Regions from separate parts of the Homo sapiens genome. Here regions 1 and 3 are each linked to region 2. The links are contacts of gene promoters, found by promoter capture Hi-C in blood cells and fetal thymus (Javierre and others, 2016). All regions are on one chromosome and are shown on one strand. The core of a region is centred on a gene start or on the middle of the fragment in contact, and the rest is flanking DNA. Distances in the headings are between cores, read along the strand shown.

Region 1 (2,749 bases), core at 195-2,694, 220 kb after region 2:
GTGAAACCCATCTCTACTAAAAATATAAAAAATAGCCAGGCGTGGTGGAGCATGCCTGTAATCCCAGCCACTTGGTAGGCTGAGATAGGAGACACACTTGAACCCAGGAGGCAGAGGTTGCAGTAAGCCAAGATCCCACCACGGCACTCCAGTCTGGGTGACAGGGTGAGACTCTGTCTCGAGGAAAAAAAAAAAAAAGTTGTTAATAAGGTAGATCTCGTGTTAAATGTTCTTATCATAATAAAAATAAAAAAATAAAAAGAATGGTAGAAGATACTAGTTTTGAGTGAAAAAAGTTATTTCATAAGTGAAAAGAATTAAAAGCAATATATATAATGAAAAAGATAGTATGTACAGCATTAACCCACTGTGTATGTGTAAAGTATGTGGCCATGTATACACACACCAAAATGTTAACCAAAATGTTGAGTGATAGAAACACAAATGACTTATTTTCCTGTTTTTACTCCTCTATATTTTCTAAACTAACTTAACTACAAAAGATGGGCCCAATTTCACCCCTAAGAGCCTCATGGTGTCCACATTAGCACCAGTTCTTCCTTACTCCTCAGACTCAAGTCCAGGGGAAAGGCTGGTTCCCCTTACAGCATCTACCCCCTTTACAATGTAATGCAAGCAAATCAATTCAGTCCTTTCTGCTGTGAGCTCAGGATACAGCAGTGCGGAATAATGTCCTCATGTTTAAAGTTCTAAAATAACTTTGGGTTTCAGAAGAGAGTGGAGAAAAGCCAAGGTGCTACAAATTATACTTGGTATCTAGATTTCTTAAAGCTCCCTGCAGCCAAAGTTAAAAATCACTACCTTAAAGGAAGCAGGAAATCGCTACAGTCTCAAAAAAAAAAAAAAAAAAAAAGTCGCCTGGAAATAAATGTAAACCTGACAGATAAAAAAAATCAGCCATCTGGAAAATTCTGTTATGAGGAAGTAGAAAAGTAAAATAAAATATTTAGACGTGTAACAAATCTTCCAATTCCCTAAGGACTGAATCACTAGCTCTCCACCCACCAACAATCACGCACAAATGCAGAAGCTTTTAATCAGTACTTGTTTCATCAGCTATTCAGCCTGTAATGATTTCTTTTGAACTTCATTTTATCCGACCATCTCTCCCTGTCCAGGAAACAGAGTCACCCCTCTCACTGTGGCTTAGCAGGGCCACCTGAAGGAGAAATGTGATGGCACTGTCCAGAAGTTTTCAGAGCTGAGCTATTCGTGGAGTTAAATACCAAAACCTTCTGTGTTTCTCGAAAGAACCACCAAATCCTAAGAAAAACCTGTCCTTTCATGATCAGCACCTAGCAGAGTGAGCAGGTAACACAGAAACCCTCCAATGGCTGAATGAATTAATCACTAATAGTCTGCCCAAAGAGTAGAATCCCCCTATGTAAAATTCATCTTTAAGGCTGGGCACAGTGACTCCCAACGCTTTGGGAGGCCTAGTTGGGAAGATTGCTTGAGGCCAAGAGTTCGAGATCAGCCTGAGCAACATAGCGAGACTCTGACTCTACAAAAAATAAAACATAAAATTCATCTTTATATTCCCAGCTCCTAGTACAGAATAGACAGATGCTCTTTACAAGGAAGTACACAGGGCGGGGGGTGGGGCGGTGTGGAGAAGATAGATGTTCCATAAATGCTAATGAAATTTACATTTACTCCAAGTAGACGGCACTGAATAAATACTATATCAGAAATATAAATCCATGGCAAATCCATCATTTGCTCTAGACAAAAACCCACACTTCTCCAAAAGGATACGAGAGAGAGGAAGAGCCAGAATAAGAATCAGTGGCTCATGTGCTTAAGACTCACATGGGAAGCTTATTTAAAATATACACTTCTGGGCCAGGCACGGTGGATCACACCTGCAATCCCAGCACTTTGGGAGGCTGAGGCAGGCGGATCGCTTGAGCCCAGGAGTTCAAGACCAGCCTGGGCAACGTGACGAAACCCCATTTCTACCAAAAAAAAAAAACAGAAAAATTAGCCAGGCATGGTGGTATCCGCCTGTAGTCCCAGTTATTTAGGAGACTGAGGTGGGAGGATGGCTTGAGTCCAGAAGGTAAAGGTTGCAGTGAGCTGAGACTGCACGACTACACTCCAGCCCAGGCAACAGAGTCAGACTCTGTCTCAAAAAAAAAAAAAAAAAGACAGATTTCTTTCACACAAATACATGTAAGACAAAAATTTGACACTGTTTTATTTATAACAGCCCCAAACTAGAAACATCCAAAGAGCCATCAAGAGGTGGACGGGTAAGCAAATCATGGTGGGTCCATCAAAAGGCATGCTAGTTAGCAACAAACCAGAGAGCGTCTGCTGACGTGCCCGACAGCACAAGGGAGCTGCACAGACATTTCGTTAAAGCAGCCAGACACGAGACATGCAGTCTGATTCTCAAAAGACAAACCATTCTACGGGAAGCGGAGAGTGGTTACCTAGGGCAAGAATGGAGGAAAGGGCTCCCCAGGGAAAGGATGGAACCTTTGGAATGATAGAAATCTACTGTTTTGACTGTGATTCTGGTGGCTCCATTTGGATGTATATCCACTTGCTCTATGTAAACACTATCGCAATAAAATTGACTTTAGAAGACTAAAAGAATTAAAAAACCCTGTAATCCCACCAATTTTAAAAATGTCCCCTCCTCATATTCTAATCCTATAGACCTACCTTGGGGGCTTGGGAACCTGTATTTTTGTTTGTTTGTTTGTTGAGATGGAGTCTT
Region 2 (2,688 bases), core at 101-2,600:
ATATGTGAAACAAAATTGTCCTGACATTTGTCTCTGGGTACTGAACTATTAGGAGATTTTGATTTTTTCATCTCCATTTTGCAAACAGTCTGTACTAAGATTACACTACTGTGTTTCTGTTTTGTGTGTATTCAGAAGCACAAAAAGTCTGTGGTTCTAGAAAGGAAATAGAAAAGTTCTTAAAAAAAAAAAAGTGGGGAAGTGAAACAAATGTTAAAGTCAGAGGAGAAAGAAAGGCCCAACCGGAGGCCCCAAATCCACCCAGAGCCCAGAAGCCCGGGTTTCCCACCGACCGGCTGCGGTCTTTGTCAGCTCTCTGGCGCTATCTGCTGTCCTTCTCGATAACAACCGTTTAATTTGGTTTGCAAAATTGCTCTGACGCAAATCCACCGTGAACACTGACGGGGTCACATTCAGCATAAAAATCGCATTCTGTTTACAGGAAAATCTGGCCCCATACTTGCTCCCATATTCACTTTTGACTTTGCCTTGCAGTACTAACTGTAACAGGGACACCTGAGCAAGTCCCTTCTGTATAAGGCCCAAAATGGTCACCCAATACCAATGAGTCTCTTGCTTTGGAAAGCCCAGGAATGCACCTCCAGCCCCTTCTGCGCAGCGCTCGGACACCATGTAGAGGAGAAGGCACTCTGCAGAACTCGCCCTCAGCCCGCACCACCTGTCCAGGGGACTGGCTGCGTGTCAATGTGTCTCTGCTCCCGGGGTTCCCGCAGATCTTTAACTTATTGGCCTTTGGGCTAATTCAGTCCTTCAAGCATTCCTCGCCCAACATGCCAGGAAGTCTTCTCACGTGTCTTCCACCCCATACCTACCAGTTCTGTTTTCCCACTACCCGATGAAAGTGTAACCGCCCCCCGGCGCCCCCCCCCCCCACCACCACACACACACCCTGTTGGTCCCATCCTCAGGGCGTGGTGGTCCAGGTGAACGCTTGCCCTCTTTTTGAGCTGAACCTCCCCACAGAGGCTGTCAGCAAAGACTGCTTTGCTGTCCAAGGCCGGCCTTTAGGTACAGGACACTATGCATGTCCAGCGAGGCTTGTTGAAGCCACATCTGTCATAGATATTGATGGGAAAAGCATTTTCCTTCTAACACATCTCATTCCAATTCTAAAAGGCACCTCTGAAGCCTTGCTGAACTTCATCAAGATTTTCACGTGGTTTCCTTAGTAAAGTGTGATGAGAAGGTCCATCCTTCTCAGGATGAAGGAGTGGTCCAGGAAGCCCTGATTGGTCTGCCGGGGAGGGAAGGGCTGCCTTATTTGGAGACCTGCAGGAATGCCACCTCCCCCGGCAGCTCCTATATAGCTGGGCGGACCTGGCTGCCAAGAGGGTGTGCTGGGGGACTGTGCAGCTCGAGGCTCCAGAGGCACACTCCAGAGAGAGCCAAGGTACGTGGGGGGCCACTTCTGTGGTCAGGACTGCTGGTTTCTTATCAAGGCTCGATCCCAGATTGAAAATCATGCAATGATTTCTTTACTCCCACACCTGGGGATGGGTCCCAAGTTCAGGGTAGACTTGCGAGGATACCCAGTCATCACTGGGCTTGCCTTTCTCTAAGTTGGTGCTATAATAAAATGCTACTTTAGGGTTTGTGGGTTGGGATTTTGTTTTGCCTTTAAGCTTCTGCCTATGAAAACTAATCTCTTTCTCAAGAATGCTGTGCTTTTATTTTTTTTATTTGACTCACCTGAAATGATCTATTATGCCATTAATCTTATTTAAGATTTCTCCTTAAAAAAGGAATGATGTGGAGTATGGCCCTATTTAGGAGACTAATGAATATTTGCTTCATGCTTGGATCTCTTTGGAGAAAGTCAGTCTGAGTTCACTGTGCTCAGGAGGCAGAGAGAGTGGGGTGAGGGGGTCCAGATGCTCATAGCCACCCTGGGACAAAGACGAGGCGATGTCTACAAGCAAGGAAAGGTCAGTGAGGCCTCTTTGCAGGCTTCTAGAGATGACTGGATGTGCTTCTAGAGATCACTTCAGCTGTGTTTTGCCTTTTTTTTTTAATATAAGGAGCAATGTGGCATCAGAGTTGAACATTTTATCAGAGGAACATTAGCCACTTTTAGGGAAGCTGCAGCAGGGTGGTGGAGGGTGTGTGAGGGGCGAAACAAGCTCCCTGTCAGCCTCCTCCAGCTCTGGGGCCCCATGGCCTCACAGTAAGTCTTTGCCTAGGAGACAGCTTAGGCAAGCTCCGGTATGGGAACTCCTTCCATTTCCCTAATCCACACAGGCAAAGACCCAGGTGCTAGAATGCCCTGACAGTCGGCCTTGGGAAGTGGATTTCCTTGATGGCTATTGTAGATTCAGGAGCCGAATGTGACAGGCAACCTTAAGGTGTGGGGTGAGGGGCTTTTCCATGACATCAGTGGCAGCCCTTCGGATGTCCCAGGGCCACCTTGACCCGGGACCCTCCTGGTGTTCCCCCAGGCCCTCCTGTCTTCCCTTTCATCTCGTTTTCTCCGAAATTCCTCAAGGGCCCTGCCCTTTGCCCTTTGCCCAGCTCAGGGGGCATCATACCCAGTGAGTGAAAAGCACAGTGTGTGAGCACTGTCTTCTCCTGAAACCCAGATGGGCAGTGGGGCATGGCTAGTGGACACATGCAGTGCAGCATTAGACAGAGCCCAGTGCAGGTCTGCCACCTCCCCGCTGTGCAGCCTTG
Region 3 (2,688 bases), core at 61-2,560, 240 kb after region 2:
AGGCTCTAAAAATACACATAGCCTTTGACCTAACAATTTTACTCTTAAGGAATTTATCCTAGCAAAATAATTAAAACAGGCTTAAATTTTTCATTTTGTGAGTGTTCATTAAAATAATGCTTAAGAGTAATCCAAAACCGGAGGGGAAAATATTAATGCCTAAAATAGAGGACTGGTTGGTACAATTGTGGGCACATTCTTATATGAGCATATTACAGAGATTAAAACATGGGTGACTGACGTGGCAACGTAAGGAGTGCATTATTAAGCTGAGAAAAAGACAGGCTTACAAAACAAACCTGATAATCCCATTTCAGTGTGTGCACACATGCAGAAAATGAAGGGACACCAAAAAATTAGCCAGGTGTGGTAGCACACTCCTGCAGTCCCAGCTACTCAGGAGGCTGAGGCAGGAGGATCCCCTGCACCCGGGAGGTAGAGTTGCAGTGAGATCGCACCACTGCATCCCAGCCTGGGTGATGAGAGCAAGACTCTGTCTCAAAAAAAAAAAAAAGAAGAAAAGAAAAAAAGGAAGGAAGAGAAGAGTAGAAGAGAAGGGAAAAGAAGAAAAAAAAAAAGAAAGGAAAATGGAGGAAAACACCAAAATAGTACATGATTATCTCCAGATGATGGGATTATATGTGGTTTTTTTTCCCCTTATTTTTCTACAGTGTACATATGTCACTTTCATAATTCTTAAAAGCTTGAGCCATTATCTAAGGACAACACTGAAATAAATATACAGGTAAGACAAACTAGAAGAGAAATTCTGGCAGTCAACACCAGTGCTGAGAAAAAACACCCTATTGATATAGTCAGTGTGCTCCCGGAGAGAGCGCTGGGAGGGCTAGAGTTTCCTGGTAACCAGGAGCCTAAATTTATCATTCCTAAGGGCTTGCTGATGGCACCTGAGTAACTTAGGAAACCAAAGGTGTGGTCAAAAGGTAAGCGCTCTTCATACTCGGTAAACCTACTGTGTTCAGGGGTTCCTGATTTTCCTTAAATCCTTTTTATTCTTGGATCTCAACTCTTCCAAGGGCTGTCTTTATCTAACATTAGTTACTATACTTCTTCACATTTCCTAGATCTTCTTTATTTGAAAAAGAAATGAGACTCATTCATTGCAACCAAACTTTAACTTGTCAAAATTATAAACTGGCTGGGCCCAGTGGCTCACATTTGTAATCCCAGTACTTTGGGAGGCCAAGGCAGGCGTATCACTTGAGCCCAGAAGTTCGAGACCAGCCTGGGTAACACAGCAAAACCCCGTCTCTACAAAAAATTAGCCAGGTATGGTGGTGCATGCTTGTAGTCCCAGCTACCAGGCAAGCTGAAGAGGAAGCATCACCCTCAGCCGGGCGCGGTGGCTCAAGCCTGTAATCCCAGCACTTTGGGAGGCCAAGGGAGGCAGATCACTTGAGGTCAGGAGTTGGAGACCAGTGTGGCCAATGTGGAGAAACACCATCTCTACTAAGAATACAAAAATTAGCTGAGCGTGGTGGCATGCGCCTGTAATTCCAGCTACTCAGGAGGCTGGGGCAGGAGAATTGCTTGAACCTGGGAGGCAGAGGTTAAAGTGACCCAAGATTGTGCCACTGCACTCCACCCTGGGTGACTGAGTGAGACTCCATCTCAAAAAAAAAAAAAAAAAGGGAAGATCAGGAGATCAAGGCTGCGGTGAGCTATAATCATACCACCATACTCCAGCTTGGATAACAGAGGGAGACCCTGTCCCCTCCAAAAAAATAAAATTATAAGCTATAGAACGTATTTGTGATTCTTGGGTAAAAAAGAAAAATATACATATAGACTGGGGTAGGGGGCAGCAGGGGAGATCAATTTACTTGTTGAACTGGTTCATGTGCATTTTCCAGGCAACAGAAAATCTAAATTTGAAAGGAAAAAGGTGAGGAAGGGGAAGCTTTAGTAGCATCATTCAAGTGTGAGTATGTATTATTACATAGTCCCTGAAATAGAAGGGGCTTACATTATGAAATACTGAAAAATCCAAGAGCTTGGAAGTTGAAAACATATTGCTCAGTGGTAAGTAAAGCTATGTGGGGTTTAAACTGTGCTATCCAATGCGGGAGCCACCAGCCCCAGGTGGCTACTGAGCATCTTAAACGTGTTGGTCCAACTGGTATGTGCTATGAATGTAACATATACAATAGACTTCAAAGGGTTGCTATGAAAATAAAAAAGAATGCAAATATCTCATTAATAACTTTATATTGATTGTGTTGAAATACTATTTTTAATATATCAGCTTATAAAATATATTACTAAAATTAATTGTTCTTGTTTTCCTTTAATGTAGCTACCTCAAAATTACATATGTGACTTCCATTATAATGGTATTAGGCACTGCTAGTCTAAAATACGTGGATACCAGGGAAAGAGAAAATGCTATTTCAGTGCACACAACCAGGGTAATCATAAGATCACATCCTATGGATGTGTAAACTTTTGATAGTTTTACACACACACACACACACACACACACACACACACACACACACACACAGGCATGGCCATCTTTATCCAAACATCAAAGACAACCCTATTATTAATATCCTACACAGTCAGCTGGGCAGATTACATGATGGGGAGCAGGTGCCATAACCTAATTTTCCACACACAGAACTGAGAGGAGGGAAGGAAGCAGATATAAAAGAGACCAAAGCAGAA

What was found. Contacts are between HindIII fragments. The CHiCAGO score rates a contact against its expected background, and 5 or more counts as called.
Region 1: a fragment that was not itself captured here is called in contact with the fragment with the promoter of PRND in region 2 in 1 of 17 cell types (total B cells); the score reaches 5.5 in total B cells.
Region 3: a fragment that was not itself captured here is called in contact with the fragment with the promoter of PRND in region 2 in 1 of 17 cell types (naive B cells); the score reaches 5.2 in naive B cells.

What each region holds. Positions count from the first base shown.
Region 1 is chr20:4,941,522-4,944,270 of GRCh38, forward strand. All of the region lies in intron 2 of SLC23A2 (solute carrier family 23 member 2), which reads right to left. Among named protein-coding and RNA genes, the nearest start is that of SLC23A2, 59 kb to the right of the region's middle. The HindIII fragment of the contact is 790 bases long and covers 1,050-1,839 here.
Region 2 is chr20:4,720,559-4,723,246 of GRCh38, forward strand. It overlaps PRND (prion like protein doppel), which reads left to right and starts at 1,351. Exons shown (of 2, transcript NM_012409.4): 1 at 1,351-1,411. RefSeq lists an enhancer at 54-273. The HindIII fragment of the contact is 8,148 bases long and covers 1-1,641 here.
Region 3 is chr20:4,964,333-4,967,020 of GRCh38, forward strand. All of the region lies in intron 2 of SLC23A2 (solute carrier family 23 member 2), which reads right to left. Among named protein-coding and RNA genes, the nearest start is that of SLC23A2, 36 kb to the right of the region's middle. The HindIII fragment of the contact is 1,218 bases long and covers 702-1,919 here.